2 separate regions of the Homo sapiens genome follow, and region 2 is linked to region 1. Evidence: promoter capture Hi-C in human tissues and cell types (Jung and others, 2019). All regions are on one chromosome and are shown on one strand. Each heading gives the region's core, a stretch centred on a gene start or on the middle of the fragment in contact. The rest is flanking DNA. Distances are from core to core; before and after follow the strand shown.

Evidence for each region. Contacts are between HindIII fragments. The study calls those that stand out against the background at their distance.
Region 2: a contact is called between the fragment with the promoter of CYYR1 here and a fragment that was not itself captured in region 1, in 5 of the 25 tissues and cell types used here (aorta, dorsolateral prefrontal cortex, hippocampus and 2 more).

Annotation. Positions count from the first base shown.
Region 1 is chr21:26,397,848-26,404,092 of GRCh38, forward strand. It overlaps a transcript of CYYR1-AS1 not described here. Among named protein-coding and RNA genes, the nearest start is that of CYYR1-AS1, 5.0 kb to the right of the region's middle. The HindIII fragment of the contact is 3,918 bases long and covers 814-4,731 here.
Region 2 is chr21:26,569,198-26,575,155 of GRCh38, forward strand. CYYR1 (cysteine and tyrosine rich 1) reads right to left here and starts at 4,089. Exons shown (of 4, transcript NM_001320768.2): 1 at 3,671-4,089. The coding sequence starts at 3,743. It overlaps CYYR1-AS1 (CYYR1 antisense RNA 1), which reads left to right. Exons shown (of 4, transcript NR_135515.1): 4 at 1-55. The HindIII fragment of the contact is 7,865 bases long and covers 2,054-5,958 here.

The sequences.
Region 1 (6,245 bases), core at 1,523-4,022:
ATGACTTGCCAGGAAGGTTGCTGTTGGAATAAAAGTGCTTACATCATTCTGCACTAAACTTTCAATTTCCTGGCAAGTATCTTCCATTGGCCAAACTGAAAGCTGGAGGGCAAGGAAGCTTGTTGGTGCAGTCCCTAGAAGTTGAAGTCTTGGATTTCAAAGGAGGATAGCGAAGGTTGGAAAGCGAATCTGGCGTGGGGGGTGGGGCAAACCCCAAATATCCAGGTGCCTTCTCTATTTATTAGCTGAGGTGGTTAATTGGTGGTCTTCCAAGTATTGACAGTTTCCTTCCAATCTTTATTTGTGCAGGATAATATCTCTTTCAGAGGTAGGGAAAACATGATGGAAAGCATAAATTTCAACCATGAAATTCCATGCCCCCTCCCTCACAGAAGGTATTGTGACAGAAAAGAAATGTAGAACTTCAATTCACTTTATAAGTACCGCGTGCTAACCAATTGTGCCACTGGAGCCACAGCACTCAATTTATTTTAGATTCCTAGTTAGCATAATTTGTAGAAAATCAAAGCTAGACAGTAGTGATGTCTCTCAAATTTGTTTGACAAGAGGTCTAAAAATTGTCCATATGTGTATTAGGCTGCTCTTGCATTGCTAGAACAGCACGTATGAATATCCCACACATGGATATCCCAAGTTTTAACTTCAGAGGCTGAATATGTCTGATCGCATTGCAGAACACAATAAATCATCTTGTCTCAGAGAAAATCCTATAATTAGGTAATTGGCATTGATACGGTTGACCTAAAAGGGAATTGTGGAGTAGAGGTTTGCTTGCAATTTCTTTAAAATACCTGAGTCTGGGTAATTTATAAAGAAAGGAGATTTAATTGTCGTAGTGTTCTGCAGGTTGTACAGGAGGCATGATGCCGGCATCTGCTTGGCTTCTGGGGAGGCCTCAGGGAGCTTTTAGTCATGGTGGAAGGCAAAATGGGAGCTTGCACAGCACATAGCAAAAGCAGGAGCAAGAAAGAGTGTGGTGGAGGGAGGTGCCACAGACTTTTAAATGACCAGATCTCATGAGAACTTATTCACTATGGCAAGGACAGCAACAAGGGGATGGTACTAAGCCATTCATGAGAAATCTGCCTCCATGATCCCATCACCTCCCACTAGGCCCCACCTCCAACAATGGGGATTACAAATCGGCATGAGATTTAGAGGGGACATATATCCAAACTATATTAATACAATCTTTTGCCATGTATATTTAGAAAGAAAAATGTCTTCAATTTCTGTTTTGAAAAAATGCATTAGTTTCCCTAAAAGTGCAGCCTGATACATAGATTTTTAAGTACATCTCTAAGGACATGAGGCAAGCAGGATGACACAGGGGAAGAAACTAAGGAAAGGTGTGGTTACAGCTGACCTGTGGCCTCAGCCTGATGCCATAGGGAACTCTGGAGTGTGAGCGGTGCAAAAAATTATCCTGCAAGGAGGCTGGCCACATAATCAGTCCTTAGCTGCAGCTATTCCAATGATGGTGGAAGCTTGGGCCTCAGCTATGTCCAGGAAAAGGGGCTTTCCTTGGCCAAGGCCAATTATGCAGAAGACAGTGTATCCATGAGCCACTGAAAACCCACACTTACGACAGCTTGGAGATGGGTGCACAGATGCACTAAAGGAGATCTGGGCAGGGCACAACATCTACTAGATATATATAAGTTTGTAGGCAGAATCCTCCTCACCCATGAATATCACCAGGTTTTAACTTCAGAGGCTGAATATGTCTGATCATATTGCAGAACACAGTAAATCACCTTGTCTCAGAGAAAATCCTATACAGCAATTAGGTAATTGGCATTGATAAGGTTGACCTGAAAGGAAATTGTGAAGTAGAAGTCTTGTAATACGACAGTCTTTTGAAGCCTCCCATTAAAAGCCCCCTACCACCTATCATATTTTTCCCCCTCCTCATGGCTTACTCTACCTCCTTTTTATGCCTTTCCACTCATCCAGAGGTTGTTTTGAGACCCAGTCCTACCTGGCTTTACTATCACAAGAGTACTGATTGATATGGTTTGGATTTGTGTCCCTGCCCAAATCTCATGCTGAATTGTAATCCCCAGTGTTGGAGGAGGGGCCTGGTGAGAGGTGATTGGATCATGGGGGTGGGCTTCTCCCTTGCTGCTCTCATGATAGTGAGTGAGTTATCATGAGATCTGGTTGTTTAAAAGTGTGTAGCACCTCCCCCCGCCCCTGCTTCCTCCTGCTCCAGCCGTGTAAGATGTGACTCCTTCCTCTTCACCTTCCACCATGATTGAAAGTTTCTTAAGGACTTCCCAGCTATATTTTCTATATAACCTGCAGAACTGTGAGCCAGTTAAACCTCTTTTGTTCATAAATTACCCGGTCTGGGGTAGTTCTTTACAGCAATGCAAGAAGGAACCAATACACTGATACTAAGATGTTAGCTGAGATGGTAACTGATAAGATTTAATCAGGAGGATGTTAAAATGTTTACGACATATATACTAACCAATCAGTAGTAGCCAATCAGACCATTCTATGGTTAGAGCTTCCTTACTGAGCCACGTATTAACCATTCGTTCATTGCCAAGTCATTAAGAGATAGAGTCACTGGAGGAGGTACTGAGACAGCCCAGGTAGAGTGGAAGGGCACTGGGTTTGGGGAGGCTCAGGGCATAAGCTGATTAACCTGCTGGAAAGTATTTCATTATGGCTATACCAGTACCTACTGACTAAATATCAGCCCAGAAGAGTTGCTTCCGATATAATACGTTTTTATTGTTATTGTTGTTGTTGCTTTAAGTAAATCCTAAATAACTGTGACTTTGAATCTTGGCAGTTCCTGGAATCACAGAAGTCAGAAACTCATAAGACCGGTCCCAGATACAATTATAATCATAGCTGTAACTTAACACTAAATCAAGATTATCACGAAGCTTTTGCATCTAGTTTAAAACAGTAAGTTAAATAGGAACATAGAAACATACTTATTGTTGGAGGTCATTATTTTTTAAAATTGTGTTTTTTCTTCAACCTTTAAGTTCCAGGGTACATGTGCAGGATGTGCAGGTTTGTTACATAGACGAATGTGTGCCATGGTGATTTGCTGTACAGATCAACCCATCACCTAGGTATTAAGCCCAGCATCAATTAGCTATTCTTGCTGATGCTCTCCCTTCCCCTGTTCCCCCTCACAGGTTGCAGTGTGTTTTGTTTCCCTCTATGTGTTCATGTGTTCTCATTGTTCAGCTCTCACTTATAAGTGAGAATATGCAGTGTTTGGTTTTCTTTTCCTGTGTTAGTTAGCTGAGGGTAATGGCTTCCAACTCCATCCATGTCTCTGCAAAGGACATGATCTCATTCTTTTTTATGGCTGCATAGTATTCCATGGTGTATGGGTACCATATTTTCTTTATCCAGTCTATTATTGAAGGGCATTTGGGTTGATTCCATGTCTTTGCTATTGTGAATAGTGCTGCAGTGAACATATGAGTGCATGTATCTTTATAATAGAATGACTTATATTCCTTTGGGTATATACCTGGGAAAGGGATTGCTGGGTCAAATGGTATTTTTGCCTCTAGGCCTTTGAGGAATTGCTATACTGTCTTCCACAATGGTTGAACTCATTTATATTGCCATCAACAATGTAAAGGCATTTCTTTTTCTCCACAACAACAGCAGCATCAGTTGTTTTTTTTGACATTTTAATAATTGCCATTCTGACTGGCATGAGATGGTATCTCATTGTGGTTTTGATTTACACTTCTCTAATGATCAGTAATGTTGAGCTTTTTAAAATATGTTTGTTGGCTGTATGAATGTCTTCTTTTGAGAAGTGTTGTGTTCATGTCCTTTGCCCACTTTTTAATGCGGTTGTTTTTTTTTTTTTTTGTAAATTTGTTTAAGTTCCTTGTAGACTCTGGATATTAGGCCTTTGTCAGATGGATAGATTGCAAAAGTTTTCTCCCATTCTGTAGGTTGTCTGTTGACTCTGATGATAGTTCCATTGGCTGTGCAGAAGCTCTTTAGTTTATATACTTGCATTTTGATAGAAAGGTAGATATAAGCTTTCTAACAAGCTGTAACCTTGAAGAAAATGGACAGTAGGCAATCTTAGCTGGTATGTAAGTAATCAATGCTTTTTCTGATCATAACTTTAATGCACAGTAATTTAATGGACAGTACTGCTAATTTATTTTTTTCCAGCATCATTTGTACAAAGTCTCCTAAAATCCATCACAGTTGAGAACAGTCTAGACAGTTATTATGACACAATCAAAAGGAAAGCTGGCAAATAAAAAAAGAAAAGTGAATAGAAGAGCTGATTAAAATAACAGTATAGTTTATAGGAGGCTTCTCTTAAATTTGTGTTTTGCAAATTTCAATTTTTGGAAGGCTCAAATCACATTAAAATATTTTACTACTACAAGTCAGCTTTCTTTTATAGGTCTAAAGAGGAAAGAGGGAGGGGTTGCATTTACTTCTCCATAGAAAGATTTCAGCAATCTAATTAAATAAATATTATAGCAGTGCATTTGAATAGTTTTCCCATCAGTGAGGAAAGAAAATGCTCTATTTCCCTGAAGTCAGACATTTATGTCACAGTTGAAGAAGGGCAAGTCAACCATCACAGAATGAATAGTTTTGTCAAGTCGATATCTGATTTGATGGAGTCGAGTTTTCTTAATGGGAACTAAAACTGTGAAATGCACATTAATCCACTCTCTGCACACCATCTTTCCCTTTAAGGTTCCAGAAGAATTCCTATTTCCGTTTTAAAGCCATCTGCTATTGCTTTTTGCCAGTGAGTATGTGGATAGATAATTTCTCAGGGTGCAATTAGAGGAACGTGAAGAAACTACTTCATGCCATAAAGGGAGCTGAAAAAGCTAAAGCATAAATGGCAACATCTGCATGAGGTATGGAGCCAGGGAGGAGACAGAAGCATGCAAATCAGTCGCGCACTCTCAACAGAATTCCAAGGTCCAAAAAACAATCTGGGAAGATGTTTACAGAACACAAACTCATCCACATCAAAGGAGTAGAAAAGATGAATAATTGGTCAGGTGCATTCCTGTGGCAAGGAAAGGCAAAAGCAACTCAATCAATTCTGAAAAACAAAACAAAACCAACCCAGGATAAATGAAAAGACTAGTTGAAACGTTCTCATCTTGGATTTGAAATGACTCAATTGGTTAACATGTAATTTCATTAAGTCCCAAATCAAGGAGATTGTCTTTTCGTCACTAGGATCATGGTTTTGTTCCTTTTAGTCTCCATGTCACGTACCCCTCTTGTAAGACCTTGGCAAGTGAGTGTTGCAGCAATTTTTTTCCGGAAGGTGGGCTCCACTCCTTCATATGGGAAAGTCACAAGTTTGGCTAGCGGTGATGAGATTTAATTTCACTAAAAGCTTATAGCTGAGGTTGTGTTCTCATATTCAATACAAAGGCTGTCTTCTAGACAATTAATGTAACTCTTACATCCTCTTTAATTTGGCTCTAAAATATCTCTTTCAATTACTATAATTCTCTGATAACTTCTAACTTCCGGATGGACTGCTTGAAGCATTTTTCCCTACTTCAGAATAATGTTGGGAAAGTTCCTCATTAAGTCTTCGTTTTAGTTGAAAATCCAGAATAATGCACCCTTGGTCTTATCTCACATATTTTTGTCATTCTGACCTCAGTGCACTGCAATCTTTGGACTTCAAGTCCCAAGCTAAGAATTAAGCCAGAGGCAGGAGCATCTGCTCATGTTATTTTTGAATCAATGGCAGCCTCTCCTCCTCCTCCTCCTCACACCTACCTACTTTTCCACCTCTTGAAAGGCCCAATTCAACACCCATTTCCCCCTTAAAGCCTTTCCTAATCACACTAGTATTTATTAGCTGCACTGAGCTGCTCACAGCTGCACTTGTGAGCCTTCTCACCTACTTCATGGCTGGAGTTCTCACTCTAGCCTGATCAGCAACACTGGGAAGGCTTGTAAACCACAGATGGCTGGGCATCATCCCCAGGGTTTCTGACTTAGTAGGTGAGGGACGAAGACCAAGAATCTGCATTTCTAAGAAGTCCACAGGTGATGCAGATGATGCTTGTCTGGGGCCATACTTTGACGATCTCTGCTGTAGTGAATGCTTGCTACATTCTTACTCGTCCATTAAGACTCCCCTCTGTATCATCTTTCCCTGTCAGAATTAGGCCTCTCTCAACCTATACCTCTTAACTCACAAATTATCCTACCTCGATGAA
Region 2 (5,958 bases), core at 2,839-5,338, 170 kb after region 1:
AGTGGACTCAGTAAAGAAAATGTGGTACATACACACCGTGGAATACTATGCAGCCAGAAAAAAAAAAGAATAAAATCATGTCCTTTGCAGCAACATGGATGAAACTGGAGGCCATCATCCTATGCAAATTAATTCAGGAACAGAAAACCAAATACCGCATGTTCTCACTTACAAGTGGGAGCTAAACACTGGGTACTCACGGACATAAAGATGGCAACAACAGATGCTGGGGACTTCTAGAGCAGGGAGGAAAGGGAGTGGGGAGGGTTGAAAAACTAACTATTGGGTACTGTATTCAATACCTGGGTGACGGGATCCATTGTACCTCAAACCTCAGCATCACAAAATATACCCAGGTAACAAATCTGCACATGTACTCCCTGAGTCTAAAATTAAAGAAGTTGAAATTATCAAAAAATAAATAAATAAAAGCCATTCTGATTGTGAGAGAGCTAATGTCCCCACTATTCCGTCAGAGTAGGACAACCAATGTGTAAGTAACGTCATGGGTGCCTTTTGAACCATGTCCAGGACAGTGACATCTTATTAAACTCGCCATCAATATCGAAGATTCAATTGCTACCGTTGCATTCCGGTGACTACTTTTATAAAGACATGGTGTTATCAAAATATTTTGAGCCAACGTTACAGGAAACCAAGCCCAAAATGTTGTAGCCAAGAAGCTGGATTATACCTGCAGCAAACATCTGGATCATGTTACACACTGGTCATTGTTTTTATGGCATTTTCCAGTGCTCTTGTCTACTTCCCAGAATTAAACTACCCAAAAGGGGAGATTTAACAGAATGGCAAATACATTTACAATCACAACCTCTCCAAAATGAAATTTCAACCACACTTCAAAGCCTTTTTTATGTTGGTTGCTTTCTCTGGGATATTTGAGAATAATTTGACAAAGATCAGTGTTTGCGCCATACAGGAGCTTTTTCTCACTGGAGAAAGAACAGATCATTCCAATTTGTCTTCAGAAGATAAATAATATTACTTCTAATGTCCAAGTTAGTATCCCTGAAAATCAGCCAACTTAAACTTTCTTCAATGACTTTTTGCTGAAAGGTGTGGTCTGGAAGAAGGTTCCCCAACTCACCCCTGACTCCCAACTCACCCTGCCTCCCACCTTAAGGAATGCGCAGAACAGGAAAAGCAGTATCTGGCTTGAAGCACTTGCTTAGAAATGGCCCTTGCAAGCTATAGCTAAGATAAGAGAGGAAGGAAAGGGAGGAGACAGAAGTTACTGGCTGAGGCCCGGAAGGTAAAACCTTGACCGAATCCTGTCTTTGTAGCCTGCAGTGGGAGTCAGACAATAATATCAACACTTCACTGGGTCTCCTTCCAAAAGTAACTCTATAGTACAACATGATGCTTCAGGTATAGAAACCTTGCTCTTATTTGTTTAGCCAAATGAAATGTGAATCTAATGCATTTGCTTTGGGGAAAATAATTTAGATTATGAGCAGTGCATCTACTTAGATTTTTGTCCCACAAAGCTGGCAATTCATTTAATAGTATGAACTATTTTGACTTCTGTGGTGTTCCAGCATCTAACCTCAACCCTTACTTCTAGCCATACCTCTTAGTTCCAACCAAACTGAAATATCCTTTGTTGCATGTACAGATCTTGATTTTTGACTTTGATCACACGATATCCTACTATATCCCACTCCGTCTCGTTGGGTTCAGGGCGTCTATATTTTTCAAAGGTCTAGTTCCTTCAAGTCTTCTTCAATTCAGTTTTCCTGAGCAAATACTGATTGATCTTTTTGCTGAACAAAATAGACATTGTCCTCATGAAGCTTACTCTTTTAAGCCAGCAGTAAGACTTTCTTCTTTGAACATCTATAGCACGTGATTTTACCTCTCCTATGACACAACCTTTTATACCTTAAAGTAACTTATGATCATACCGTAGTTCCCAGAGAAGACTGATAAGAACATGACCTCTTACGGCTCAACATACCTCACTCAGTAAGTAATAGTTGAATGAATATGAAAAGCATAAAAAGGCCTCTGAATAACAAGTCCAGGAATTGACACCAAAGAGCTTATTAGCTAAACACTTCTTAGCAAAGATAGTAAGTCAACTTAGCACTGGCTTACAACTACTTTGTAGCTTATGATAGAGGGATTCCAAAGAAGAGAAATGAATGGACTGAAAACTTTCTAAACTAACCACCCTTGTTGCTGGCCAGCTTCGCTGATTTCCTGAGCCCTGAGGAGCTGGGCACCTAGCACTGGGGAAACAGGAGGAGGGGGCAGATGTGTAAAGCAGAAGCTTTCAGTTTACCACAGGGAATATAATAAACAAACAAACAAACAAACAAAATTGTGGTTCAATGGAGTGGTTGAATAAGTGTGAGTGAAAGTATTAAATATTGTCGAGCAGAGGAAGTGAAAAGCATAATTACTTCGAAAGAACTAATAAAGAGATTTTTTCAATAGAAAATGAATATTAATGCAGTTGACTCTGTTAATCCCTCAAATTCTGAAAACCTTATACAAATTTAATAAAAGAAATAAATGTTGTAAACAGATTAAATGTAATTCTCTTCATTAAATACGAAGAACTTATCCTACTTTTATGAATTTTCATATTAGAAGGTCAGCATTTTTCCTGCCATAAAACATCTTTAAAATGGTAACTCCTAGACAGCCACTAATTTGCATTTCAATAAACAGGCTAAAAATGTCTACAGAAGTTATGGTGACTCTTTTCTAGCAAGGTTGAATGAGAAATTCAATTCTTTTAATACTCAGGTGCAACACTGAAGAACATCATTTCAGTTGCAATATCTTTTTGAGTATCAAAGGTAAATTTCAGTGCTATATATACATTTCGTATTGGAGGCTCAGGGGTGAGCCTGCGATTTTTGTCATAGGACGTTAGAGACACAAAAACATTTTACAAAGAACTTTGCTTTTAGCTTGCATTGTTTTGTGAATATGAACTGATGCAAAGACCACGTGTGTAAGACACTTTATACCTGAATAACCAATGAAAGGCCATTTGGGGCTCCATATTAATCACAAACAAGAAAACCCACTTTGCTTCGTTAATTATTAGCAGTTCTTACTACGAATAATTAGAAGGGAAACCAGATGCCCTTCTCTTATAAACAAGTGTCTATCTAAATCAACGAACCTGTACAGATTAGACCCTGGGTGAATTCATGCTTCTCAAAAACCTTGTGTTTGACTTCAGTCCAATAGCTCAGTCTACCACACTTGTGAATCTCCCAAAGAACGAAAACAAAGCTCTAAGTTTTTTTTATTCACAAGAGGGAAAACCAGGACTATTTAGAAAGCAGAAGATGGAGAGGCCACTGCCTAGCCTATCCAGATAAGTTTATTTGGATATAGTTTACTCTATCCAGAGAGTCAAATCCCCTAAACACGAGACTGCTATTTCCAAGGTGGAAAGGGAAAGAAAAGAAATGCAAAAGGTAAAAGTTAAAGGAAAAGGAACAAAACAAAACCGCGTGCGGCTGGAAGTGCGCGGGTTTCTGCCGTCGCCTCGCGGAAAAGGCAGAAGCGTCTGCAAAGGTCCTTCTGCAAAGGTCCCGGTCCGTCCAGCTCAACCCACGTTAGCCCGGACCGTGACCCAAGGGCAGCCCCGAGCCTCTGACCCTCTCCGCCGCCCTCCGTCACTGACCTGCGTAGACAAAGAGCAGGACCAACTTCGGAAGCAAGACCCCTGGACGCACGGGTAGCCTCGGAGCGTCCATCCAAGCCGGTGGCCTGAGGCTTGGAGCGAAGGGAGAGCCCGGAACCGGAGGGAATGGGGAGGATGGAGGGCGATCAGATGGAGAGAGCAGCGCTCCTGAGAGCCGGGTGGAGCAGAGACCCGGCCATTGCCTAGGGAGCCTTCCAAGGGAGCCCGGGCCGGGCGCGTCCCGGGCCAGCGACTGCGGGACTCCGCGGAGCTGGGGCGCCCGTGGCCCGAGACGGGCTGCGCTGGGGGCCCAGGTCTCTTTGTCTCGCCCCACTGCGCTCAGGCGCGGGGAAGGCGGCCACTCCGGCGTCCTTGGCCACCCAGGCTCACATTTCATCTCCGCGGGTGGCAACGACTGCGGGCAGGGGGCGGGGGTGGCCCCGACTCCTCCCCAAGCCCGGGTTCTTCCTTCTAAAGAGTGACTAGGGGACCAAGAAACTTTTCCTAACCCCTTGCTTTGGCGATTGCTATGGAGTTCAGCCTGCTCCTTTTTAACCTTGCCTCCACTACAATTTTTCCTTTCTAAGCAATGGATGAACAACTTTGCTTTTTATCTTTAAACAAAGGGAAGGAATTTTCAGGGTTGAAGGTATTCGACAAAGAGTGACAGTGAAGAAAACTCAGGATTGGGAAGTACAGAAAGTGTATGGCATCTCTGCTGAAAGCTGATAAAATGTTTATTATTTTTTCCTGTAAATTCAGAAAAAAAAAACACAACAGTGCACACTGTCGTTATGATTTTGACGTTTTGGAGTTACTGGCCTATGCAATTAAACAAGAGAAAGAAAAAGATTTATGAAAAATGAAAGCTAAATTGTCATTAGCAAATGAAATACGTGTATACATGGAAAATCAAAGTTAATCAACTATAAAGCTCTTGTTTAGCAAACCAATAGTTTTCTTTCCTGCAAACAAAAATCAGAAAGTTCTCAATGTTATGCATGAAGGAAAAAAAATGATACGAATAAGTAAAGAGATACTTTTTTCACTAAGAAAATTTAGTAGGATAAAGACAACAAGATTCCCCAAATTATTATATACATTTGGAAATAAAATTGATCCCAATTTTTAAAATAACATGATTTTTTTCAAACCAATCTGATTCTAAAGTTTATATGGAAAATAAATATGTAAGAATATCTATTTAAAACAAGAGTAATGAATGGGAATAATGAATGGGATATTACATATAATATCACAATAATTAAAACAGTTTAGATTAACATTGGAATAGATAGGCTTAGTGAAAGAGAAAAGGTAACCCAAAAGTAGACATGAGTATGTACAGCAATTTAATTTATGGTTTAAAGAAATATCAATGTAAAGTAGTAGGGGAAATGATGAGTTACTCAGTGAAAAGTGTTGAGGCCGTAAATAGCCATCTGTGGAGCCTTATCTTTTTACATCAAAATCAGTTCTATATGAATTACATATTTAAGATACAACTATGAAAATATTAGATTAAAAAATAAGAGGATAACATTCAAATAATTGTGGAATAGGGAAGCCTTTTCTAAGCATTATAAAAAACTCAGAAACCATAAAACAAAATATTGACCAACTTGACTAAATAAGAATTAATACTTCCAGTTGGCAGACATTTAACTGGCAAAAATATTTGCAATGCAAAGTCCTAATCTCATTATTATACTGAGCTTAAAAAAATCAATAGGAAAAACAACCAAGAGATAACTGAGGAAGGATATTAATAGACACTTCATACAAAACAAATAAATATAAATATAGAAATAAAATTGACAGTGAGACATCACTTTTCATGTATCAAACCAACCAAATACAAAACCAAATGAACTCTTAAGGGAAACGGTGTGGTTATATGTACGAAAATTCAAATACACATGTACTTAATTTAGTCAGTTCTCTTCCAGGAATTTTTTCCTGTAAATGCAGTGCTGCAAGGGAATACGAGAGTGGGAGGAAACATCACCCCCAAAATAAACATAAGCTAAGCTCTTTACTGTGTTTTACACGTTGGTGAAGGCCCAACCATCCACCATGTTCTAAAGAAGGCTGATCAGTTCCACCTTTTTTCTCATCCTCGCTGGCCAATCTATCACCAAGTTCACCTAATCTGTCCACCTGAACACCACCCAAACGCATTTTAAATTATCATCTATTTCTGTCCTAATCTAGACTTTTATAGTCTTGATTATATTCAGCCTCCCTGCCTTCAGAGATGTTTGCCAGACTGAAGCTGGAATATTTCT